Regions from separate parts of the Homo sapiens genome. Here regions 1, 3, 4 and 5 are each linked to region 2. The links are contacts of gene promoters, found by promoter capture Hi-C in blood cells and fetal thymus (Javierre and others, 2016). All regions are on one chromosome and are shown on one strand. Each heading gives the region's core, a stretch centred on a gene start or on the middle of the fragment in contact. The rest is flanking DNA. Distances are from core to core; before and after follow the strand shown. Region 1 overlaps PRORP (protein only RNase P catalytic subunit). Region 2 holds the start of CFL2 (cofilin 2). Region 3 overlaps FAM177A1 (family with sequence similarity 177 member A1). Region 4 overlaps SRP54 (signal recognition particle 54). Region 5 overlaps SRP54 (signal recognition particle 54).

The links. The method cuts DNA at HindIII sites, captures the fragments that hold promoters and counts their contacts. A CHiCAGO score of 5 or more calls a contact.
Region 1: a contact is called between a fragment that was not itself captured here and the fragment with the promoter of CFL2 in region 2, in 1 of 17 cell types (naive CD8 T cells). The highest score is 5.4, in naive CD8 T cells.
Region 3: a contact is called between a fragment that was not itself captured here and the fragment with the promoter of CFL2 in region 2, in 7 of 17 cell types (total CD8 T cells, naive CD4 T cells, total CD4 T cells and 4 more). The highest score is 6.8, in total CD8 T cells.
Region 4: a contact is called between a fragment that was not itself captured here and the fragment with the promoter of CFL2 in region 2, in 1 of 17 cell types (naive CD8 T cells). The highest score is 5.3, in naive CD8 T cells.
Region 5: a fragment that was not itself captured here is called in contact with the fragment with the promoter of CFL2 in region 2 in 5 of 17 cell types (total CD4 T cells, monocytes, naive CD8 T cells and 2 more); the score reaches 5.9 in total CD4 T cells.

What each region holds. Positions count from the first base shown.
Region 1 is chr14:35,154,546-35,157,366 of GRCh38, reverse strand. All of the region lies in intron 4 of PRORP (protein only RNase P catalytic subunit), which reads right to left. The region is part of intron 4 of PRORP-PSMA6 (PRORP-PSMA6 readthrough); the gene reads right to left. Among named protein-coding and RNA genes, the nearest start is that of PRORP, 33 kb to the right of the region's middle. The HindIII fragment of the contact is 4,902 bases long and covers 1-2,821 here.
Region 2 is chr14:34,713,181-34,715,978 of GRCh38, reverse strand. CFL2 (cofilin 2) reads left to right here and starts at 1,386. Exons shown (of 4, transcript NM_138638.5): 1 at 1,386-1,441; 2 at 2,418-2,725. The coding sequence starts at 1,439. RefSeq lists silencers at 950-1,539, 1,630-1,689. The HindIII fragment of the contact is 2,283 bases long and covers 1-1,899 here.
Region 3 is chr14:35,075,229-35,078,072 of GRCh38, reverse strand. It overlaps FAM177A1 (family with sequence similarity 177 member A1), which reads right to left. Exons shown (of 5, transcript NM_173607.5): 3 at 857-923. Among named protein-coding and RNA genes, the nearest start is that of FAM177A1, 30 kb to the right of the region's middle. The HindIII fragment of the contact is 2,843 bases long and covers 49-2,844 here.
Region 4 is chr14:35,000,821-35,003,661 of GRCh38, reverse strand. SRP54 (signal recognition particle 54) reads right to left here. Exons shown (of 16, transcript NM_003136.4): 4 at 2,642-2,726. Among named protein-coding and RNA genes, the nearest start is that of SRP54, 19 kb to the right of the region's middle. The HindIII fragment of the contact is 3,095 bases long and covers 1-2,797 here.
Region 5 is chr14:35,022,829-35,025,617 of GRCh38, reverse strand. SRP54 (signal recognition particle 54) reads right to left here. Exons shown (of 16, transcript NM_003136.4): 14 at 2,538-2,708. Among named protein-coding and RNA genes, the nearest start is that of FAM177A1, 22 kb to the left of the region's middle. The HindIII fragment of the contact is 2,251 bases long and covers 275-2,525 here.

The DNA of each region.
Region 1 (2,821 bases), core at 93-2,592, 440 kb before region 2:
TGTACCATCAACACAATGGTGAATGACTTGGGAAGAAACCACATCCAAAAATATCCACAGGTCTGGCCCATGTTTAGGATAGGCTCCTAAGTATATTTTGAAAAAAATGAACGTCCGGGCGCGGTGGCTCACGCCTGTAATCCCAGCACTTTGAGAGGCCGAGGCGGGAGGATCACGAGGTCAGGAGATTGAGACTATCCTGGCTAACATAGTGAAACCCCATCTCTACTAAAAATAAAAAAAATTAGCTGGGCGTGGTGGCGGGCGCCTGTAGTCCCAGCTATTTGGTAGGCTGAGGCAGGAGAATGGCGTGAACCCAGGAGACGGAGCTTGCAGTGAGCCGAGATGGAGCCACTGCACTCCCGCCTGGGCGACAGAGCAAGATTCCGTCTCAAAAAAAAAAAAAAGAAAAGAAAAAAGAAAAAAATGAACTACCATTATTAGGGCAAGAAATATTGACAACGACTACAAAAAAAGGTATTAATTTATGATAGGAACTTTCACCTAAGTCTAATGATTCCTAAGCATCTACTCTGCGAATAAGTTCTTTTCATTTCCCACTGACATTGTATCTGGGGACACTGTACCTTGATATGGCCTTATCATATTTTCTTGAAAAACACCCTCTGCCTATTTTTCTCATTTTGGAGAATTTTACAGGTTAAATAATCAAGATAAGCATTTATACTGCATGAATCTGCAAAGGAACTACAGTATTTTTATTGATATGACAGAATGCACTTTTGCCATTAGTGGTTTTTCAGTCAGCTTGCAAAGAATCACACTGTTAAAGCAGTGATCAGCCTAGAGAGAAGCCTGCTTTTGAGACAACCTGAGTTATCTGCTAATTCAAAACATCTGAACAAAAATATTCCTGGCACAAATGCAGTGAACTCATTACAAAAACAAAAACAAAAACAAAAATAAAACACCTATGTTTAAATTAGCCCTGTAGGTAGCTCAATCCATATGCATTCCACCCTTCCAATTTTAAGTCTCTGAAAGAAAAGCCAGCACTCTTTTAAACACAGGAAATCACATTTTACTTCTCTGCAGCTGCTTCATAACCAAGGAAAATGCAAAAGCAAAGAGGAAATGTGCCGGAGATCTTATTAACAAAGAGTGGAAATCCCCACACTCCACATCTCCCAGTTAGCACTGTTGGGGACATAGGCTCTCAGGTTCATATTTCCCTTTGTGAAATGCCTAACCACACCAGAATTAATCTGCAGTTGCCACCTATGATAAAAGCAGGGGTTGTGCACACTGGAGTATTCCACATTGCCTCTTCAGCTATAGCTTTTACCACACAATGGATTAACTTGTACAGGATTTTTTCAAACTCCTCCCCTAACCCAGAAAAAAAATGTTAATAACCTCTTTGCAAAGCAAAAACAATGCAGTACAGTAGGAAACCTTTATAGAATTGACTCTGAATCTAAATTAGTTGTTCTACTCTATTAAGAAATTTTATCTTGTGCGTTTCAAAAATGGAAAAAGAAACGTGCAAATGACATGACAATTTTCAGCATTTAAAAAGTATAATTTGCTTTAAGAAGGGGACTTTCATTCTCTATAGTGGTATTTCTGAACTGTTTATATCCTTTCTAATGAATATATACTATTTATATTATAATGAATATATAATATGTTTACTTGAGGAAATCTTTACTATAGGAAGATTAGGAAGATGTTGCTTCTGCATGAAAATCACTAAGAAAGCACTGTTTTATAATCTCCCTTTTCATAACTTCTATCCTGAAAGCATATGTGTATTTGTCAGCTTTTTTTTTTTTTTTTTTTTTTAAATAGACACCAGGTCTCGCTATGTTGCCCAGGCTTGTCTTAAACTCCTGGGCTCAAGCAATCCTCCCACCTCAGCTTCCCGAAGTGCTGGGATTACAGTTGTGAGCCACCACAGCTGGCCCTTTGTTAGCTTATAAAAAAAGATTTTCAAGATGAAAATCTTAAACATATATAAAAGTAGACAGAATAGTATAATAAATCCCCATGAACCCATAAACTAGCTTTATCATCTCATGACCAATCTTGTTTCATATATAACTCCATCTATTCCATCCCCTATTTCCCAGTTATTTTTGAAGCATATCTCAGACATCACATCATTTAATCCATAAATATTTCAGTGTTTAGCTCTGAATCTAAAGAGTTTGGGTCAGGCATGGTGGCTCACGCCTGTAATCCCAGCACTTTGGGAGGCCAAAATGGGAAATCACTTGAGCCCACGAGTTCGAGACCAGCCTGGGCAACATGGTGAAACCCCCTCTCTACAAAAAGTACAAAACTTAGCTGATGTGGTGGCAGGCACCTGTAGTCCTAGCTACTCAGGAGGCTGAGGTGGGATGATCACCTGAGCCCGGGAGGTTGAGGCTGTGGTGAGCTGTGATTGTGCCACTGCACTCCAGCCTGGGTAACAGATTGAGACCCTGCCTCAAAAAAAAAAGAGTTTTAACTCACTAGCATTATTAACCCTAAATAAAAATCAACAAAAATGTCTTAATAACTCCAATAACTGGTGTTCAGATTCCTCTGATTGTTCAAATCAGGAACTAAGGGCCCAATATGATCCATACACTGCAAATGGTTGCTTTATCTCAAATTGCTTTTATCTATAGATCATTGCTCCATCTCTTTTTTTTTTTTTTGGCAATTCATTTATTGGAAGAAACTGGGTTGTCTTGCAGTTTCCCACAGATGGTATTTGGTAATTGTACCCTTGAGGTGTAATTTAACATATTCCTCTGCCCCCTGTATTTCCAGTAAATTAGTAGTGAGCTCTAGATGCTTGATCAGATTCATG
Region 2 (2,798 bases), core at 137-2,636:
CTGCTGGGGCTGCTGCAAATCTCTGAGGTTGGGAAGGGAAGGTAACCGCAAGATGAAGCGAACAGGAATTTGCTAATACCTACACATAGCAGATGATCAGAGCTCTGGAGAGACATTCTCCATGACTTCTTGGAAGTTCAACAGATAAAGTGAAAGGTTCCATAAATTGTAATGTACCAGCTAGATATAAAGTATTATCCACTTGCTTGGGATTCATGCTTAGACATTGGGAAATCCCTTCTCAATTTTTGTCTCTAAACGAAGTCTATCTTCCAATTAAGAAAACAAACCCAAGATATAGACAGAAAAATAGGTCTGTTTCAATGCCTAGCATGTTCCATTTAAAATACAGTAAATTTGGGCTGAAAGAACTTATCACGCAATCTAGGGCAAACACCATCTCATGACTTTCCTGCCTAACCTCAATCCTGAGACCACCAAAAACACACCATTTCCTACTGAACATTGATATACTCAGAAACTGAAATCTAAAGCTGGAAAGGGCCTTAACGATAATTTAATAACAGTTTGTTTTACACATGAAGAACCCTGAGGTATGGAGGAGTTAAGATTAAAAAAAGAGAAACTGCCTTGGCGCAGTTATATGGGCTTTGCTAGAAGAGGCTGCGTCGGCTTATTTGATATCAGCTGTCATAGCTGGAGCTTCATGAAATCTCTAAGAGAGAGTACAATCCATTTCCTATGAAGTCTAAAATGTAAAAGGATATTACTAAGGAATGCTACCACGTAATTTTTTAATCATAATTATTATTTCAACCAGAGTTTTGAAAAGTGATTTACCAACACTGCGTATCATTTTGTTTTTGCTAAGTACTATCAACTGGAGCAATCTCGTGTAGTATTTATTCTCATTTATCTCTAAACAACTGGGGGTTTTCCAAAAAGACTCAAAATGTCGAAATCCAGCCTCTTTCGGGAAAACCACAGGTAAATAAGGAAAGACACCTTCGCAGGAGTTCCCCTCACACGCACCCACCCCTGGCGCAGGGCCCTACGGAGGCGGTGGAAACGCCCCTCTGGGAGCCCAGCACTCTCTCCCACCGGCTTGACGGGTGATGCTCGGGGGCTGGAGGCGGCTCTGCCAGGCTCCCGGGCTCCGCTACCACCGCGTCGCCCCCCCCGGCCTGCAGGGCTCGCGCTCTGAGGTCAGGCCGAGGACGCGGACAGCCGGGGAGCCGGGGCCGCGAGACAGAAGGGCCGGCCTGGGAGCGGGTGGCGCCGGCTGGGGACCAGGCGTGCCCACGTGACCGCCCCGCCCGCTGCCTGCGGCCCGCCGAGCCCCGCCACCTCCCTCGGGCTGCAGCTCCCGGCGTGCCCCGCACTCTCCGCTGCCCACCCGCTCGCCCGCCCCTCCTTCTCCTCCCAGTGCCACAGAGCCGAAGCCCGAGCTGCCGCCGCAGCCACAGCCGAGGGCACTATGGTAAGACGAGCGCGCTGGCCGGGAGGCCGCGGCGAGGCGAGAAAAGCCCCCCGCACGGCCCCGGGAGTGAGGCCGCCATTTTAACCTGATTTTGGCCTCCAAGGTGGGCGCTTCTGCTCTGCGGCTCCGCTGCTCTCCAGCCGACCGGCCTGCCCTCCGGCCGTCAGGCCCTGCCCTGCTGCTCTTTGGATTTTGGGGGGCGGGGAGGGCCCGGGCGTCGGCGCAGGTTGGGGGTCGGGGCCGGGCGGGCGGGGGCGCGAGAGGGTCTGCGGACTGCAGCCGCTCGCGCCGCCTTTGCCCTTCGCTTCCTAATTTTACTTAACACGCGAGGCTTTAAAATTGGTACGTGCTGCGAACGCTGTGTGGGTCAGGGTCTGGACGGCCTGTAATAAAACCCTTACGGGGAGATTAAGGAAGAGGGAAAACACTTTTTAAAATGCTTTCTCGCCGTAAAAGCTTTTACACTCGATCAGTTAGTTTTGGAGTGTCTGCATGTGAGCTGTGTGTGGGCCGTGGGCGGTTTGGAGTTTACACTTGATTCTCTTTCCTTATGAGGAAACGTCAGTGGCTAGGATGACTTTAAAGAAAAAAATAGTAGAAGCATTAACTGAAATCCAAAAGTGTTTTTTTAAGGCCAGCCGAGTTGACACAATACAGAAGGTATTTTTGCTGCCACTCCTGAAGCTCTGACATCACCCAGTGAAATAGGAAACATTTCAGGGATGGGACAACTTGTATTTGTCCCTTTCGCTTCCACGTCCAAACCCCTTTAAGAAGGATGAATGGGCAGGATGAGTTAGACTCCTTCGCTGTATCGTCTACTGATTCTTAAAATGTGACAAATCTGATTGGACGACTTACATGGTACGGTGCAATTTTTGATGTCCAGACTAAAGTGAGTCTTCTCTAGGCAAACAGTAATTTTGGTTAAAACCAAAATACGTGTTCTGAATTACTGTTCTGTGTTTATTTTCAGGCTTCTGGAGTTACAGTGAATGATGAAGTCATCAAAGTTTTTAATGATATGAAAGTAAGGAAATCTTCTACACAAGAGGAGATCAAAAAGAGAAAGAAAGCAGTTCTCTTCTGTTTAAGCGATGACAAAAGACAAATAATTGTAGAGGAAGCAAAGCAGATCTTGGTGGGTGACATTGGTGATACTGTAGAGGACCCCTACACATCTTTTGTGAAGTTGCTACCTCTGAATGATTGCCGATATGCTTTGTACGATGCCACATACGAAACAAAAGAGTCTAAGAAAGAAGACCTAGTATTTATATTCTGGTGTGTAAAAACAAAAGAAAAAAGTACTTTTAAAATGCAAGGATTATTATTATCATAGTCAGTCTTACCTTTG
Region 3 (2,844 bases), core at 221-2,720, 360 kb before region 2:
AGTGATAAAAAGCTATGAGGGAGTTAAAAATGGAAGCAGAAGAAAGCTTCATAATTTAAAACCTATATTTTAAATTAGCATTATTAAGTTATAAGTTGATAATTCATTTCCTTCAAATATGACTTAGTCACATCTCAATTTAAGAAATGGAATATTAATGAAATAGAAATATAAATTAACTATAATACAGGCTTTAGAATAAGCAGTGAGACAGATTGAGAATGTTATCAATTGGAAACCAAATGACAAAGCAGCAAAATAGCTGTTAAGAGAAAGGGTTTAAGAACTTGAGGCCGGGCGCGGTGGCTCACGCCTGTGGTCCCAGCACTTTGGGAGGCCGAGGCGGGTGGATCATGAGGTCAGGAGATCGAGACCATCCTGGCCAACAAGGTGAAACCCCGTCTCTACTAAAAATACAAAAAATTAGCCGGGCGCGGTGGCGGGCGCCTGTGGTCCCAGCTGCTCGGGAGGCTGAGGCAGGCGAATGGCGTGAACCCGGGAAGCGGAGCTTGCAGTGAGCCAAGATTGTGCCACTGCAGTCCGCAGTCCGGCCTGGGCGACAGAGCGAGACTCCGTCTCAAAAAAAAAAAAAAAAAAAAAAAAAGAACTTGAAAACCATATCTAAACTAACATAGTCATTTTTCATTCCTCAAAAAATAAACTATATTGGAAGCTGAAGAATGTTTTAATGTGAAGTACAAGTTAGGTTACTATCTCCCAATGCTAGCTAGCTCTTGAGGACAGTGATTAACTCCCTATTGTTTCTCCTTCAGTTTGGAAACATCCTATTTAGCAAAGTTCCTGTTGCTGAAGCATGTTACAGCAATTATACAATATTCAAGCAGAAAAGCAATACCTGAGAGAGTTGATGTAGCAGCCCGAAGCATGTAAAACCATAAGTAGGGACCCCAGGTAAGTTTTGTCTGCAACAAGAAATCATGTTAGCAACATTCATACCTAAATTCATTCCATATATTTAGGCCAGAATGAAGTAGTCAAATACTTGGTAGGCACCGAGAATATTCTATAGGCAGTACTACAAAGAGACTGCAATCCAATCAACAATTTAAAATCTGTAGAGTTAAAATTCCACAAAGATATTTTACATTCACCCATATAACTACCACCACCTTAAGCCCATAGAAGAATCAAAAAAAGATGCAGCCGCTGAAATGGAGTTGGTAATCGCAGTCTGGATTATTTTATGAGTTGACAATCCAGAGCTTTCCTTTCTCCTGTCTTGCTGCATTTTTGTCTCCACTATTTATAAACACAACACCAGAGGGGGTGTTCAGTCAATAGAAAGAAACTTAAGGATGCCATCTGACATACTTATGCTATAGCAGGGAAATTAAGGTTCAGAGAAATTAAGCAGGATATGTAAGGGAACATCAAATGAGCTTTTAATGGTGGGAAAATAAGGGACAAATAAGCGGCAAGATAAGTTTCGTTTGTTTCTTTAAGTCTTTTTTTTTATTATTATTATACTTTAAGTTCTAGGGTACCTGTGCACAACATGCAGGTTTGTTACATATGTATACATGTGCCATGTTGGTGTGCTGCACCCATTAACTCGTCATTTACATTAGGTATATCTCCTAATGCTATCCCTCCCCGCTCCCCCCACCCCACAACAGGCCCCAGTGTGTGATGTTCCCCTTCCTGTGTCCAAGTGTTCTCATTGTTCAATTCCCACCTAAGAGTGAGAACATGCGGTGTTTGGTTTTCTGTCCTTGCAATAGTTTCCTCAGAATGATGGTTTCCAGCTTCATCCATGTCCTTACAAAGGACATGAACTCATCCTTTTTTATGGCTGCATAGGATTCCATGGTGTATATGTGCCACATTTTCTTAACCCAGTCTATCATTGATGGACATTTGGGTTGGTTCCAAGTCTTTGCTATTGTGAATAGTGCCGCAATAAACATACATGTGTATGTGTCTTTATAGCAACATGATTTATAATCCTTTGGGTATATACCCAGTAATGGGATGGCTGAGTCAAATGGTATTTCTGGTTCTAGATCCTTGAGGAATCGCCACACTGTCTTCCACAATGGTTGAACTAGTTTACACTCCCACCAACAGTATAAAAGTGTTCCTATTTCTCCACATCCTGTCCAGCACCTGTTGTTTCCTGACTTTTTAATGATCGCCATTCTAACTGGTGTGAGATGGTATGTGATTTTGATTTGCATTTCTCTGATGGCCAGTGATGATGAGCATTTTTTCATGTGTCTGTTGGCTGAATAAATGTCTTCTTTTGAAGTGTCTGTTCATATCCTTTGCCCACTTTTTGATGGGGTTGTTTGATTTTTTCTTGTAAATTTGTTTGAGTTCATTGTAGATTCTGGATATTAGCCCTTTGTCAGATTAGTAGATTGTAAAAATTTTCTCCCATTCTGTAGGTTGCCTGTTCACTCTGATGGTAGCTTCTTTTGCTGTGCAGAAGCTCTTTAGTTTAATTAGATCCCATTTGTCAATTTTGGCTTTTGTTGCCATTGCTTTTGGTGTTTTAGTCATGAAGTCCTTGACCATGCCTATGTCCTGAATGGTATTGCCTAGGTTTTCTTCTAGGGTTTTTATGGTTTTAGGTCTAACATTTAAGTCTTTAATCCATCTTGAGTTAATTTTTGTAGCAAACTTGACAAAAACAAGAAATGGGGAAAGGATTCCCTATTTAATAAACGGTGCTGGGAAAACTGGCTAGCCATAGGTAGAAAGCTGAAACTGGATCCCTTCTTTAAGTCTTAAAAAAGGACTAGACCATAGAACCCAAGACAAGTTCAGTGCATATTTGGTAAGCCAGGGCCACTGGCAGAATGCAATCCACAATGCACACCT
Region 4 (2,841 bases), core at 1-2,500, 290 kb before region 2:
GGGAGGATGAGGCTGCAGCAAGCCATGATCACACCACTGCACTCCAGCCTGGGCAACAGAGTAAGACCCTGTCTCAAAAAAAAAAAAAACCAAAAAAACCAAAAAAACAAAAAACAAACAAACAAAAAACATGGTGGTGCATGCCTGTAGTCCTAGCTTCTCTGGAGGCTGAGGAGAGAAGATCGCTCGAGCCCAGGAATTTGAGGCCGCAGTGAGCTCTGATCACGCCACTGCACTCTAGTTTGAATGACAGGGACTCTGTCTTCAAAAATAAATAAATAAATAGAGAGTCCAGAAACTACTAGTATCATCTGGTGCCACTGCCTTGATTCATACCAGGGAGTTTTACCTACCATTGTTTTCAGTGCAAATGTCAACATAGTACAAAAGTCAAATAATGTCTTAGTATTATGAAAATAATTTTGACCTTGCTTTGTACACCATTCCTCTAGACCATAAGCATCTGAGTATAAGAACCAGTCTCATTTATTTCTGCTATCAGCAGCATTTGGCATACTTCCTGAAATAAAGTAGGTACTCAATAAATGCTTCTTAATAAAGCACTTGATGCTCCAGAATTGCCTACAGTTACGAGCCCCTAACAATAAAAATTTCTGGCCAGGCAAAGTGGCTGACATGTGTAATCCTAACACTTTGGGAGGCCAAGGCAGGTGGATCACTTGAGGTCAGGAGTTCAAGACCAGCTAGGGCAACATGGCAAAACCTTGTCTCTACAAAAAATGCAAAAACTAGCTGGGCGTGGTGGCATGTACCTGTAGCCCCAGCTACTTGGGGGGCACTGAGGCAGGAGGATTGTTTGAGCCCAGGAGGTTGAGGCTACAGTGAGCCATGATTGCACCACTACACTCCAGCCTGGGTAACAGAGTCAGACTGTCTCTTAAAAAAAAAAAAAAAAAAAAAAAAGGAGGCCAGGCACAGTGACTCATGGTTGTAGTCCCAGCACTTTGGGAGGCTAAGGCAGGCAGATCACTAGGTCAAGAGATAGAGACCATCCTGGCCAACATGGTGAAACCCCATCTCAACTAAAAATACAAAAAAAAATTAGCTGGGCGTGGTGGCACACACCTGTAATCCCAGCTACTTGGGAGGCTGAGGCAGGAGAATTGCTTGAACCTGGCAGGCAGAGGTTGCAGTGAGCAGAGATCATGCCATTGCACTTCAGCCTGAGTGACAGAGGGAGAGTCAAAAAAAAAAAAAGAAAATATTCAAACAATGTGGGGGAAAAATGATTGTAGAACTAGTGGGCATCTAATGCTCTAAAAAATTTTTTTTGTTTGTTTTTTTTTAAAGACAGGGTCTCACCCTCTCCCCCAGTCGGGAGTGCAGTGGCACAATCACGGCTCACTGCACCCCCGAACTCCTGGGCTCAAGCAATACTCCTGCCTCACCCTCCGGAGTAGCTGGAACTACAGATGTGCACCACCATGCCCGGCTAATTTTTGTATTTTTAGCAGAGATGGGGTTACACCATGTTGGCCAGGCTGGTCTCGAACGCCTGACCTCAGGTGGTTACCCATCTCAGCCTCCCACAGTGCTGGGATTACAGATGTGAGCCACTGCACCCGGCCTGCACCAGCTATTTTTATCAATTTTTTTTTTTTTTATAGAGACTGGTTCTCACTATGTTGCCCTGGTTGGTCTCAAACTCCTGGCCTCAAGCAATCCTCCCACCTCCGCCTCCCAAAGCACTGTGATTACAGGCATGAGCCACCATGCCTGGACTAAAATAATTTTTTTAACAGCTCCTTTCTTTTTTTTTCTACAACTGAGCCCATATATATTTTTTAAGCTCTAAGATTTTCACCATAATTTGCATGATCAGCAATAAGGTGAGGCAGGGCAACTGGCTATATTTACTATTTGAAAATAAAACTTTCACTAATTCAAAATTGCTCATAATCTAGGCAAGAATTGGGATACATGGTCTTTGCAAAGGGAATTCCTTACACAACGAACAGTGTAGAAAAGAATACTTGCTATATGTGACTTTGCCATACAAAAGCAGGACCATCACTAGGCAAAACATGATAGTGAACGAGGAAAAACTTAGGCCCTTCCATCAACAAATCTGTAGTGAAATTTCACTCATCGCATCTTGGCTTTGGCATTTTTTGCAGGAATAGTACTAGCTTTCATATCTGCACTCAGAATTATGTATATTCAGTAAAGTCTACAATAAAAATAGGTCCTGGCCAGGTGCAGTGGTTCACACCTATAATCCCAGCACTTTGGGAGGCCGAAGCGGGCGGATCGCCTGAGGTCAGGAGTTCAAGACCAGCCTGACCCACATAGAGAAACCCCGTCTCTACTAAAAATACAGAATTAGCCGGGCATGGTGGTGCACGTCTGTAATCCCAGCTACTCGGGAGGCTGAGGCAGGAGAATTGCTTGAACCCGGGAGGCGGAGGTTGCACTCCAGCCTGGGCAACAAGAGTGAAACTCCTTCTCAAAAAAAAAAAAAAAAAGGTCCCTAAGAAAACTCAATAATCCTTTCATTAATATTTTAATACAGATGAATATTCCATAAAAAACATATTTAAAAATTCTGAAATATTTGTAGTGCTAACGCTTTTTTATCCACTGAGTATAGAATCACAGCATAATCTTCATATACTTTTACCTTCACAAGTTCTTTAAATACAGCATGCTGAATCATTTTTCTTTTGTTAAGACCAGATGCCATCTCTTCAAGATCAATAGCAGACCTTTATGATGGTGGTTGGTGATTGGGGTGGGGAGGAGAAAATCAGTTAAGAAACTCTAAGAAAAAGAAGCTTCTGCTCCAAAGAATGTACAACATTCAGTCATTCATATTAATAG
Region 5 (2,789 bases), core at 151-2,650, 310 kb before region 2:
GTGACATAGCTGTGTGTATACCCACTGCCAACTTCATCTTGGGTTATTCCTTTATTGAGGGATCAATGCATAGATAAGATCTGGATGGTGAATCTGTTCTATCAAGAACAGTCAGGACTACATGGGAAAGACATTACAGTGATGTAATGTGTTTATTAGTCACTATCTGAAATAGCATGTGATGGTAGGAATTATAACCAATTTTCAACATGTTTGTCTAATTTTTTTGTCACAAAAGAGAAAATAGGATATCGCAAGGAAAATAAGGAAAGCTTCAAAGACAAAAGGTAATTTAAAACATCTGGAAATACTCATTCTTTTAGAAGCTATTCAATGGTATTGTTCATATTCAGAGCTTGTCTAATTAATATTTTTGGAAACAATAAATTCATTTTAATGGGTTTCAAGGCAAATTTTCACAGACTCTGAATTAGTTGTTTACATTATAGAAAAAAATCAAAAAGAGGACTGGAACAGTTGGAAGTCTTTGGAAAACCTTATCTTTTTACGATACATAATACACAGCAAAATAAATTCAATTGAGATTAAAAAGTCAAACACAAAATAAAAACAAAAACAAGTAGAAGCCAGGTGTTGTGGCTCATGCCTGTAATCCCAGAGCATTTTAGGAAGCTAAGGCGGGCGAATCACTTGAGGTTGGGAGTTTGAGACCAGCCTGGCCAGTAAAGATGGTGAAACCCAGTCTCTACTAAAAATACAAAAATTAGTTGGGCATGGTGGCACGTGCTTGAAATCCCAGCTACTCGGGAGACTGAGGCAGGAGAATAGCTTGAACCCAGGAGGCGGAGGTTGCAGTGAGCTGAGATCATGCCAGTGCACTCCAGCCTGGGCGACAGAGCAAGACTCTGTCTCAAAAAAAGAAGAAAATGGTGACAACTGTGGTATCAACATGGAGAAGGTTAACTTGATTACCTCTGTAAAGAAAAAAAAAAAAGGAAAAAATAAACAAGGGGAAGCTGTTTATGAGCATAAAAGAAATAAAAAAAGATAGGCTGGCTACATTAAAAAGGGCAACTACTGTTCATTATAAAATATAAATAAAAATAAAAGGTAAATGAAAAACTGGGGGAAAATATTTGAAGACATAAACCAAAGATTTTAAGGAGCTATTACAAAGATATAAGGGGGAAAAATGGAAGAACTGGACAGGGAACATGAAGAGGTGATTCACAAAGTAAATTCAAACCAGTAAATGTACAAAGAAATGTTAAACTTAATAATGTAAAAACACATATTGAGAAAATATTCAACCATTAAAATGGAAGTGAGGCCGGACGTGGTGGCTCAAGCCTGTAATCCCAGCACTTTGGGAGTCCGAGGCGGGCACATCATTTGAGGTCAGGAGTTCAAGACCAGCCTGGCCAACATAGTGAAACCCCGTCTCTACTAAAAATACAAAAATTAGCCAGGCGGTAGTGGTGCATGCCTTTAATCCCAGTTACTCGGGAGGCTGAGGCAGGAGAATTGTTTGAGCCTGGGAAGCAGAGGCTGCAGTGAGCCGAGATTGTGCCACTGCACTCCAGTCTGGGTGACAGAGAGAGACTCTGTCTCAAAATAATATAAATAAAGAAATATAATGGAAATTATATTACTACAAAATTTTTTTAGCTTCTACTATGTTTCTGATCAAAACAGGCAAAAATCCCTGGTCTCATGGAACTGCACAAAAACTGATCTGATATAGAAGTGAATGAATCAGCCTTACTGTCCAAAAAAGTGGCACTACATTAGACAAAGATACATGCATAACTTAAACAGTATTACTCAGAAGAAGTGTGTGTGTGTGTGTGTGTGTGTGTGTGTGTGTGTTTGGGGACCGGAGTCTCACTCTGCTGCCCAGGCTGGAGTACAGTGGTACAATCTCGGCTCACTGCAAGCTCCGCCTCCTGGGTTCAAGTGATTCTCCTGCCTCAGCCTCCCGAGTAGCTGGGATAACAGGTACACCCCACGACACCCGGATATTTTTTGTATTTTAAGTAGAGGCAGGGTTTCACCATGCTGGCCAGGCTGGTCTTGAACTCCTGACCTCAAGTGATCCGCCCGCCTCAGCCTCCCAAAGTGCTAGGATGACAGGCATGAGCCATCGTGCCTGGCCAAGAATTATGTTTTGAAGAATATTTGACAACATGGAAAAACAGTTATGATATATCAGAAGAAAACTTAGTTATAGCAACTGTTATTTGCAGTAGGATCCACTGGATTCTCTGGGGAGTAAAGGTAATGTGTTTTTTTTTTCCTTATATTATCTAAATTTAATATAATGTGTTCACAAAAAGAAAATCATTGCTTTATTAATTTTTTTTCATTTACCCACACTACACAGATGTAAAGTTTTTTTTTAAATATTAATATTACCTTGAATATGAAAACAGATAAATCACAGGTCACATAAATCCTGGAAGTACTTGAAAATAACATGAAATTCAGCTGTGAATTTTCCAATACTGGCAGCACTCTTTTTTCTCAACTTCCTTTCTTTTCCGTCTGTTAACTAATAACAAGCTTATTTTTCTTACCTTTGAAAAGTCCTTTGATACCTCCCATCTTTTTTACCATCTGTGCAAACTTGGTATATTGTGTCAAAAGTTCTTGAACATCTCTTGTTGATACACCCGATCCTCTTGCTACTCTTTGGATTCTTCCTGGTTGTTTACTAAAAACTTTGGCACCATCCGTACTGTCTAGTTCTGTAGACAAGGTCAGTTACTCTCACACACAATTATCATTCACCATCAAAGCAGTTATGTGCAAATGGGCAATATATAACT